3 separate regions of the Homo sapiens genome follow, and regions 1 and 2 are each linked to region 3. The links are contacts of gene promoters, found by promoter capture Hi-C in blood cells and fetal thymus (Javierre and others, 2016). All regions are on one chromosome and are shown on one strand. The core of a region is centred on a gene start or on the middle of the fragment in contact, and the rest is flanking DNA. Distances in the headings are between cores, read along the strand shown.

Region 1 (3,113 bases), core at 294-2,793, 180 kb before region 3:
TTAGTAACAGCTTTATATTATCATGATCATATAAATATTAGTCACAGCAGAACCAAGTAGTGTGCTGGGTTTATACTTCCTTTTCTATAATATTCCTAGCATATACATCAAAACCATATGAATGCTTATTAAGTTAAACCACATGAACTTGACTTTTTTTGTAGGTTGAAACAGTCAAATATGGGCAACTTCATATGGTCCAACCTAATCAGAGAGTGTCAGTTGCTCTCCAAATTGGATGTATCTGTCTACATTCCCACCTACTGCTTTCCATCTCCAACATCTGGTGTCCCAAGACCTTCATCTGTCTACCAATCTGATGAGTATAAAATGGTGTGGCCTCATTCCTCTCTGCAACCGGAAATTCCAGAAGGCAACTGAGCAATTTTTTTTTTTTTTTTTGAGACAGAGTCTCTCTCTGTCGCCCAGGCTGGAGTGCAGTGGCGCAATCTTTGCTCACGGCAAGCTCTGCCTCCCGGGTTCATGCCATTCTCCTGCCTCAGCCTCCCAAGTAGCTGGGACTACAGGCGCCCACCACAACGCCCGGCCAATTTTTTGTATTTTTAGTAGAGACGGGGATTCACCATGTTAGCCAGGATGGTCTCGATCTCCTGCCTTCGTGATCCGCCTGCCTGGGCCTCCCAAAGTGCTGGGATTACAGGCGTGAGCCACTGTGCCTGGCCCAACTGAGCAATTTTTAAGTAATGTGACGGAAAAAATGTTGTTGGCACAAGAATTTCATGCCACATGAATTACTTTTCATCCTGTAGGCAACAGATAGATACTCTCAGATACAGTGACTGCTTGAGAATTTTTACATAAGAGGAGATTGAGGGATGTGCTCTGGACTGGAAGTGGGCAGGAAGGAAGAGAACTTGTCTTGATGGTGCATTTGTGTTGTAAGCAAACTATTTTTTTACTCAGTTTATATACTGTGAAGCTTCCTAAAGCACCTTTTATTTAGTCTTTAGAAAATCTGGGAAAAATTCAACTATTTATTTCAAAGATTTTATCATTATGATTAGTAGCAGTAGCAGCTGTAATACTTAGTTAAGATGGCTTTAGGAGACTGCTAATGGAGTTTACGGTGGGAAAGAGTTGCTTAAATTCTTCCGAGTACCCCCCACCCCACGGCACAGTTACTGCTTATGTATGCAAGTGCTGTTTTCATAAATCTTTTATTCCAGCCACAAACAGGTAGAAAATAAAATTTAAAACAGCAGTTAGGGCTGGGTGCGGTGGCTCACACCTGTAATCCCAGCACTTTGGGAGGCTGAGGTGGGGGGATCACCTGAGGTAAGGAGTTCAAGACCAGCCTGGCCAGCATGGTGAAACCCCGTCTCAACTAAAATTACAAAAATTAGCCGGGTGTGGTGGCAGGCGCCTGTAGTCCCAGCTATTTGGGAGGCTGAGGCAGGAGAATCACTTGAACCCGGGAGGCGGAGGTTGCAGTGAGCCGAGATCATGCCATTTCACTCCCACCTGGGTGACAGAGTGAGACTCTGTCTCAAAAATAATAATAATAATAAAATAATAATAACATAGCAGTTAGCATTTACGACGGTATAAAAAAATCAAGTACCTAGGAATAACTCTAACAAAAAATGTTCAAGACTTAAAGATCAAAATGTATAAAACATTATGGAGAGAAAGAAGACCAAAATAAATGAAGTATACTGTATTCATAAATCAGAAAAACTCAAAATTTGAAAGACGTTAATTCTTCCCAAACAGAGGCAAAGATAATCCCATCAAAATTCCAACAAGTTTTCATTTTGGTGAAATTTAAGATGATTCTAAAATTCATGTGGAAATGCAAAGGGCCAAGAAAATATTATATAAAAAGGACAAAAGGGGAGAGCTTGGGAGACAAAGATATAAAGACTTATAAGCTACAGAAATGAAGACTGTGATACTGATATATAAATAAACTAGTGAAACAGAATAAAGAACCCAGAAACAGACCCTGTCATATAGGAATATTTGATATATGGCAAAGGAAGTATTGCAAAGCAATGGAGAAAGAATAGTCTTTAAAAAATACTGGAACAATTGACTATATAAAATCACAAAGAAACACTGTCTCACAGTACACATCAGAATCAATTCTGATGGATTGTAGATCTAACATGAAAGGAAAAACAATGAAGCTTTTAGAAGGTAACATACAAGAATATCTGCTGTCCAATATTTGCCTTGAGGAAAGTTTGATATATTCAATTACAATAAAACTAAGAATTTCTGTTAATCAAAAGATGCCATTAAGGATGTAAAAAGAAAAAAACAGTCACAGAGTGGGAGAAGATTTTGCAACACATATAATCACAAAAACATTTCTACCCAGAATATATAACAAACTCTTGCAAATCAGAAAGGCAGACAACCCAAAATGTGCAAGAGATTTCAACAGACACTTCCAAAAAGAAAGGCAATTGGGCATGTGGCCAATAAACACAGGAATAGCTGTATTTTCAACTTCATTAGTCATCAGGGAAATGAAAAATTTAAAAAACACAATGAGATACTACTATAGACAAAGACTAAAGATAAAAGCCTGACAATACCAAGTGTTGTCAAGGGGACCAGCCAACAAGGGAACACAGTTCTCTCTGACTTAACTTGAAAAACCCCAGTGGGCCAGTGCTCGCATGGAGTCCATCCTGTCGGTGGACCAGAACCCTCTCTGGGGGACTCAGCAGCTGTCTGACTGCAGGTCCCCTCCTAACTGCAGGGTGAGCTTACCTTGGTAGGAAAATAGCGGCTGAATTTGAACTTCTTCAGGGTCAGGGTCATGGAGTATGTCCCAAAGAAAAGGATGAAGGACATGAGCGCCAGGTCTGGGATAAACTTGCAGGAATTCCCAAGCAGGCGCCCGCCGTAGCTCAGACACTCCTTCTTGCTCAGCAGGGACCAGTCCAACGCTGTGAGGTTAAGGAGGTTGTACTTGGAGACCAAGCACAGGAGAGAATGGGTCAGCATCTTCCTGATGAGTCAGCTGTGTCCTTCCCACTGCAGTCCCCAGGCAGCCAGCATACCTTCCCACCCTCTGAGGGACCCCAGCCCCCCAGAGTGATGTTCCTGGGGACGGGCTGGTTCAAGGAATGACAAGCTCC
Region 2 (3,296 bases), core at 84-2,583, 170 kb after region 3:
AGTTTATGAAAGGCTTAATGGAAAGACCAGGGTTTGACTTGAGAATTAAAAGTTGTTAGCAGCCGGGCACGGTGGCTCACGCCTGTAATCCCAGCACTTTGGGAGGCTGAGGCGGGCAGATCACCTAAAGTCGGGAGTTTGAGACCAGCCTGACCAACATGGAGAAACCCGGTCTCCACTAAAAATACAAAAAATTAGCCAGGTGTGGTGGTGCATGCCTGTAATCCCAGCTACTTGGGAGGCTGAGGCAGGAGAATCGCTTGAACCTGGGAGGTGGAGGTTGCAGTGAACTGAGATCGCGCCATTGCACACTAGCCTGGGCAACAAGAGCGAAACTCCATTTCAAAAAAAAAAAAAAAATTTGTTAGCTATGTGATTTTGGGCGAAGTGGAATAGTACAACATATTTCTTAGTAAAGCACTACAAAGCGAGATGATTATCTATAAATGGCATCCAGTAGGTCCAACAAATATAATTTTCTTCCTTTTCTCTCATCCACAAAATGAACTCTTTTAGGATAATAATATATTTTCCTTTTTTTTTTTTCTTTTTTCTTTTGAGACGGAGTCTCGCTCTGTCCCCCAGGCTGGAGTGCAGTGGCGCGATCTCGGCTCACTGCAAGCTCCACCTCCCGGGTTCACGCCATTCTCCTGCCTCAGCCTCCCGAGTAGCTGGGACTACAGGCGCCTGCTGCCATGCTTTGCTAATTTTTTGTATTTTTAGTAGAGATGGGGCTTCACCGTGTTAGCCAGGATGGTCTCGATCTCCTGACCTCGTGATCCACCTGCCTTGGCCTCCCAGAGTGCTGGGATTACAGGTGTGAGCTACCACGCCTGGCCATATGTTTTCCTTTTTTAAAGCTTTTTTTCCCTTGGTCACTGCTTTCTACCCCCGACTACCATACATTGAACACCAACAACTAGTATGTATTGTGTTCTTCACAAATACGACTAAATGTGCTAAATCTGGGGATCGGGGAGGAGACTTCTCAGACGTTGAAAAACAGCTCCCTCACTGGCTGGGGAGCAGGGTACCCATGCACTAGATGAACGGGTCACACCAATGGCATGAAATGGAAAGGTTACAGGAGTGAAACGGTGGCCCTTAGTGTTTGGATAGTTAAAGCAGTGAGGAAGGCCTGGTTCACTGCAGCCCAAGCTGCAGCCAGCATTCACATTGTTTTTGAACTTACCCTGCCCTCCTGCGGCCACAATGGGAAAAAACTAAGAAAGCCAAATGACTGAAGATTAGGTAATACCTGAAGTAGACCCTCTCAGAAGAAACCTTAAAATAGGGTTATAAAATTAAAGTGTGTTTAAAATAGGAGACTTTAACATACATACGTGCATATACAATGTCTGTATTTCTCTCTTCACATAAAATATAGAGGCCCAGGAAAGTAGAGGCCCAGGAAAAGGTGCTCTTGCCCAGTCCTCCACATCTTCCCCCGTCTCACAGGGCCCTAACCTCTAGGCCTGACCTGTTCCTTTCCGAATGACATTCATGAGGCCTGTACTTGGGTGTCATGGATGGGCTTCAGACATTCTGAGAACCCCTTGAAATTATATACAATTCATCTGTACATGCATAGATGTATTTTGGTGGGGTGGGGGAAGGGGGAAAGCCCCTAGCTTTTATCAGATTCTCAAAAGAGCTCTATGACCCCAAAAAGGTCAAGAACCACTACAGAGACTATAGAGTCACAGTATCTTAGCCTGCCTGGGTTGGTTTACAATTAGCTGTCTACTCTCTGAATACAGGATAGCTATAGGATGTTAACAACCAGGGTAAGTAATCACAGCAGATAAAGCTTAGTCAGGAACAGCAGTGCAGCATCATCCAACCATTGTCTTTAAATCAACACAACATGAGAATAATCTAACAGCTTACAACGGTGAGGCAGTCAAGCTTGTCTTTCTAAGCTCATTTGCCTCATTTGTGGAAGTGATGCTTGGACCCTAGGAAAAAGGAGAAGCCCCTTGAAAAGAGTTGGCAGGGGTGGTGGTAGTGGTTATCAACATGTGAACTCAGGGCAGAGAGGTGACTGCAGGAATGGACCTAGTGGTGACTATCTTCCTGGAGCCCCAGTCTGTAAGAGGGTCAAAACATCACCATAACTGTAATGAGATAGAGAAAATTTATATCCCAGAACTCTTCTCAGAGAGAGAGAACTGTTGTCATTCATTCATTTGCTTAGTCATTCATTTATTTAGTCATTCAAGCACTTATTAGTTTACTGTCTTTTATGAGCTAGGCACTTATTGGTGTCATCAAGAAAAGAGACAAATTGCCTACTTTCGTGGCTTACATTCTAGTGAGAGAACAGATAATAAGCAAGCAAATAAAACAGAATACAATTTCAGATGATAGATACTATGAAGAAAAATAAAGGGGCGTGTGTGTGTGCACGCGCGCGCGTGCATGCATGTGAAGTTTTAGCTTGGCTGGCCAGGGAAGTATTCTTTAAGAAGCTGACAGTTGGGCAGAAACTTGAATGACGTGAAGTGAGTCATAAAAACATTTGTGCGAAGATTGTTTCTTATAGAGAGATGAGCAAGTTCAAAGGTCTTGAGATGGGAATGAGCTTTTTGTGTTGGGGGATTAGCCAGAAGACTAAAGCAGAATAAGGAAGGAAGTGAGGACTAGCTAATAAGCTGCTGGGGTGAAGGACAAGACCCCCAAAGTGGCACACTCATGTATCAACAGGGGTCACTACACTTGCTTTGAAGAAGGGTGGGTTCCATTATTGCAATTTGGTATTGCTCAGGAACTGTGCAAGAGTGGGGCAGAGTAAAGCAAGTTCCTTTTTCTTTCTCTTTTTCTTTGTAGCTCTTAGCTTCTAAACAACTACTGAATTAGCATTTTAAAAATATTTGTTTGAAGGTGTGCCCAAGCTATCAGCTTGTGTAAGGTGCCACATGTCCCAGCCCAGCTTTACCGCTTATGCTTTCCTGTTGTGTGGTGCTGGCAGGCAGTGGGGAAGGAGGGAAGAGGAATCTGGGAGTTCCATGAGCAGAGCTCAAGCAGAGATCCTTCAGCCTGTAGTGGACATGCCTCTTTCCCAGCTCTGGTCAGCTACCCAGGGAATTCTATTGTTAGCAGTTGTCCATTCACCTGCCCTCATCAAGCTAATATAGTCTAAGGCAGGCTGAAAAAAATAATTGACTGTTAACTAAAGAACTAATGGTTCACAATGGATGATTTATATTATGGGTGTCCAATCTTTTGGCTTCCCTGGGCCACATTGGAAGAATTGTCTTGGGCCACACATAAAATGCATCAACACTGATGATAGC
Region 3 (3,411 bases), core at 254-2,753:
GAAAGAAGCAGGATACAAACTTACACATCAATTATGATCTCATATATGTAAACCACTATGTGTTCAACAAAAGGAAAACTTCAAAATGATAACAGAGGATACGTTTCCTTCCTATGCTCTTTTCTATTTTGTAAGTTCTCTACAATGAGTTTGTTTCCTTTTGTAATCACTTAAAAAAAAAAAAAGACTAGTCCCCAAAACTCACTTTAGAGACATAAAAAGTTTACAAACAATCTCTTGGGAGCTCCCTCAATTCCCCACAACAGTCTCCCTGAACCTGGTTCCTTCCAAAATGTACTTCCAAATGTGATCTTCCCAAACCTTTGCCTATTGCCCCGCTAAAACCTTGTCTCATATCTGTTTCCTAAAATTCATTATCCCCCCAAATCTGCTGTTTCCTAAGTCTTGCAGAACTCAAAATCCCTGAAGTCTCATTAACCCTATCCACCAGTGAGAACAGCCCTGTAGCAAGCACCAGGAGTGGCCCATAGCCCAGGCCAAGCTTGACTAGAGCAGGGCTGACTGGACTGAGTAAAGAGAGTTGTTTCCTTAGACCTCCCCTCCCAGCCTCGCATCTGACACCCGTGATGGTGACCAGAAGGGACAGAGATATTTTTGCACAAAGGCTCTTCAAATCCGTTTTCTTTCTTCTTCTTCTTTTTTTTTTTTTTTTTTTTTTTTTTTTGAGACAGTCTCTCTCTGTCACCCAGGCTAGAGCGCAGTGGCGCGATCTCGGCTCACTGCAACCTCCGCCTCCCGAGTTCAAGCAATTCTCCTGCCTCTGCCTCCCGAGTAGCTGGGATTACAGGCACCGCGCCACCACATCCAGCTAATTTTTTGTATTTTAGTCGAGACGGGGTCTCGCCATGTTGGCCTGGCTGGTCTTGAACTCCTGAGCTCAGGCAATCCTCCCGCCTCAGCCTCTCAAAGTGCTGGGATTACAGGCATGAGCCATTGAGACCGGCCCCGTTTTCTTTATTTTAAAATTGATTGGCTCTTAAACAATTTGACTTTCAAGTGCAGTCTCTGAATTATTTAATATATTTCTTCCTCTTGAAATTCTCGAAATAGATTTTTTCTGTTATCTTCCCTCTCTAAATGCTCATCCATTTAAATACGCACCACCATGTAAGAGACTTACTACATTCATTAGCTGTTTCAAAATCCACTTCCTGTTCTCGGGCTCTACACCACCCACTGACCCTTTCCCTCATGGCTTGAGTGTAACAAAGCGTTTGAGTGGGCACCGTGCAGGTGTAGGTTTTCTGCCCGAGTACCGACGTGGCTTCCTTGGTCATCTAAACTCCCGCGCGGTGGGCGGGAGCAAGTAGGGGCACTGGGCGGCCCAGAGCCAGCCCACTGTTCCCGACACCGACCTTAACGGCCGACCCTGGCTCTGGCGCATCCCCAGCTGAACTGAAGCTCACCGAGCCTTCGTGCGCCATCGCCAACGCGGTCGCAGCAACGCTGGTGTTTCTGCTGCATCCGGGCCGCGTAAGCCACCTAACAGTCGCCTGGGCAACCACGGGCTCGGGGTCGCTCGCCCCGCCCACAGTTGCCCCGGCAACCGCGCCGCCCGCGGCACGTTCCGGCCGCTCACCCCGCCCAAGGGCCGTGCGTACGTGCGTCGTCTCTATGGTGGCGGCGGATTTGGAGGGACCCTACGAACCAGGAGTCAGGCGAGCCGATCTGGGGCTGCAGGTGTTACCTCTGATCTAGGCCGGGGGCTTCAGGGATCCGAGCCGAGGGAGAAAGCCTTGGGGGCTTCATCACACTTATTTGGCTCGCGGGCTTGGGGCCATCGGGTGGTCCTGTGTCATCCCCATTCCTCCTCTGCGATTCCCCCGTCGCCCCAAAACAGCCCTGGGACTCCCCTGTCTTGCTCCTCGAGACCCTCCCCCATCACCGTCCTCTGGGCACCCCATCCTATGACCCAGTCTCAGGCATCTTCCGAAATGCTCGATGATAGCCGCCCTCGGGCATCTCCGCTGCGTCTGTTTGTAGCGCGCCTGGTGATTCGGCTGCACCCCCACACAGGATGTTCCGCTGGGAGCGCTCCATTCCCCTGCGAGGCTCGGCCGCCGCCCTGTGCAACAACCTCAGTGTGCTGCAGCTGCCGGCTCGCAACCTCACGTATTTTGGCGTGGTTCATGGACCAAGCGCCCAGCTTCTCAGCGCTGCTCCTGAGGGTGTGCCCTTGGCCCAGCGCCAGCTCCACGCTAAGGAGGGTGCTGGAGTGAGTCCCCCACTTATCACTCAGGTGAGGCATGGAGCTGGGAGTGATGTTGCTGAACCCAGTCCTACCCCCAGCCTTTTCTCTCCAAACCTTCAGGAGCAGGCATGTCCTAACCTCAGAATCTCCCCAGGCATGTCCTAACCTCAGAATCTCCCCTCTCCTGCCGGGCGCGGTGGCTCACGCCTGTAATCCCAACACTTTGGGAGGCTGAGACGGGCACTTGAGGCCAGGAGTTCGAGACCAGCCTGGCCAACATGGTGAAACCTCTTCTCTACTAAGAATACAAAAAAAATTAACCGGGTGTGGTGGCGTGCACCTGTAATCCCAGCTACTTGGGTGGCTGAGGCAGGAGAATCGCTTGAACCCAGGAGGCTGAGGTTGCAGTGAGCCGAGATGGCGCCACTGCACTCCAGCCTGGGCCACAGAGCAAGACTCCGTCCCCCAAAAAAAAAAAAAAAACAAACAAACTCATCTTCCCTGCTTTGATTTTCTCCCTACACTGATGCACCTCCCTCCAGGTCCACTGGTGTGTCCTCCCCTTCCGAGTGCTGCTGGTACTCACCTCACATCGAGGAATACAGGTAAGAAGAGGACTCTCCTGCTTGCCCCACCAGAGCCTTCTCAGCTTCCCTGCCAGGCTTCCAGACTTTCCCACTTGCCTCTAAACACTTCCAGACTTTTCACATGCTTGGCCCACTCACTCTTTTTCTATTTCTTATCTTCAATCTTTCCATCTTTTCCAGTTTCCAAGTGCCACCTCCAGTATCTGCCCCTTTACTAGCTGTATGTCCTTACACTATTAACTTCTCACTCTCACTGTTGTCCTCTGAAAAAATTAGGATAAAAATAGTACCTACATCCCAGATTTGTTTTGAGGATTAAATGGGCTAAGGCTAACACGGATATGTGAAGTACTCAGCAGAGGTCAGTTGGGTTATGCCCCCTGGTTCTTGCCCCGGTCTTCCAGATGTACGAGTCCAATGGCTACACCATGGTCTACTGGCATGCACTGGACTCTGGAGATGCCTCCCCAGGTACCTGCAGGACCAAGTGGGGTGGGGGCAGGGAGTGTTTGCTAGGGCTGCAGGAGGGGATATTTCTGATCATTCTCCCCTTTCATATTCAGTACAGGCTGTGTTTGCCCGGGGAATTGCTGCCAGTGGCCACTTCATCTG

Evidence for each region. Contacts are between HindIII fragments. The CHiCAGO score rates a contact against its expected background, and 5 or more counts as called.
Region 1: a fragment that was not itself captured here is called in contact with the fragment with the promoter of C2orf81 in region 3 in 4 of 17 cell types (naive CD4 T cells, erythroblasts, activated CD4 T cells and 1 more); the score reaches 6.8 in naive CD4 T cells.
Region 2: a contact is called between a fragment that was not itself captured here and the fragment with the promoter of C2orf81 in region 3, in 7 of 17 cell types (total B cells, naive B cells, naive CD4 T cells and 4 more). The highest score is 7.9, in total B cells.

What each region holds. Positions count from the first base shown.
Region 1 is chr2:74,236,593-74,239,705 of GRCh38, forward strand. It overlaps SLC4A5 (solute carrier family 4 member 5), which reads right to left. Exons shown (of 31, transcript NM_133478.3): 21 at 2,743-2,943. Among named protein-coding and RNA genes, the nearest start is that of MTHFD2, 40 kb to the left of the region's middle. The HindIII fragment of the contact is 1,210 bases long and covers 939-2,148 here.
Region 2 is chr2:74,586,659-74,589,954 of GRCh38, forward strand. The region is part of intron 4 of M1AP (meiosis 1 associated protein); the gene reads right to left. Among named protein-coding and RNA genes, the nearest start is that of DOK1, 34 kb to the left of the region's middle. The HindIII fragment of the contact is 950 bases long and covers 859-1,808 here.
Region 3 is chr2:74,420,116-74,423,526 of GRCh38, forward strand. It overlaps C2orf81 (chromosome 2 open reading frame 81), which reads right to left and starts at 1,504. Exons shown (of 3, transcript NM_001316764.3): 1 at 1,428-1,504. The coding sequence starts at 1,445. It overlaps WDR54 (WD repeat domain 54), which reads left to right and starts at 1,615. Exons shown (of 10, transcript NM_032118.4): 1 at 1,615-1,701; 2 at 2,038-2,260; 3 at 2,755-2,817; 4 at 3,204-3,270; 5 at 3,363-3,411. The coding sequence starts at 2,039. RefSeq lists a silencer at 1,435-1,714 and an enhancer at 2,115-2,294. The HindIII fragment of the contact is 12,224 bases long and covers 501-3,411 here.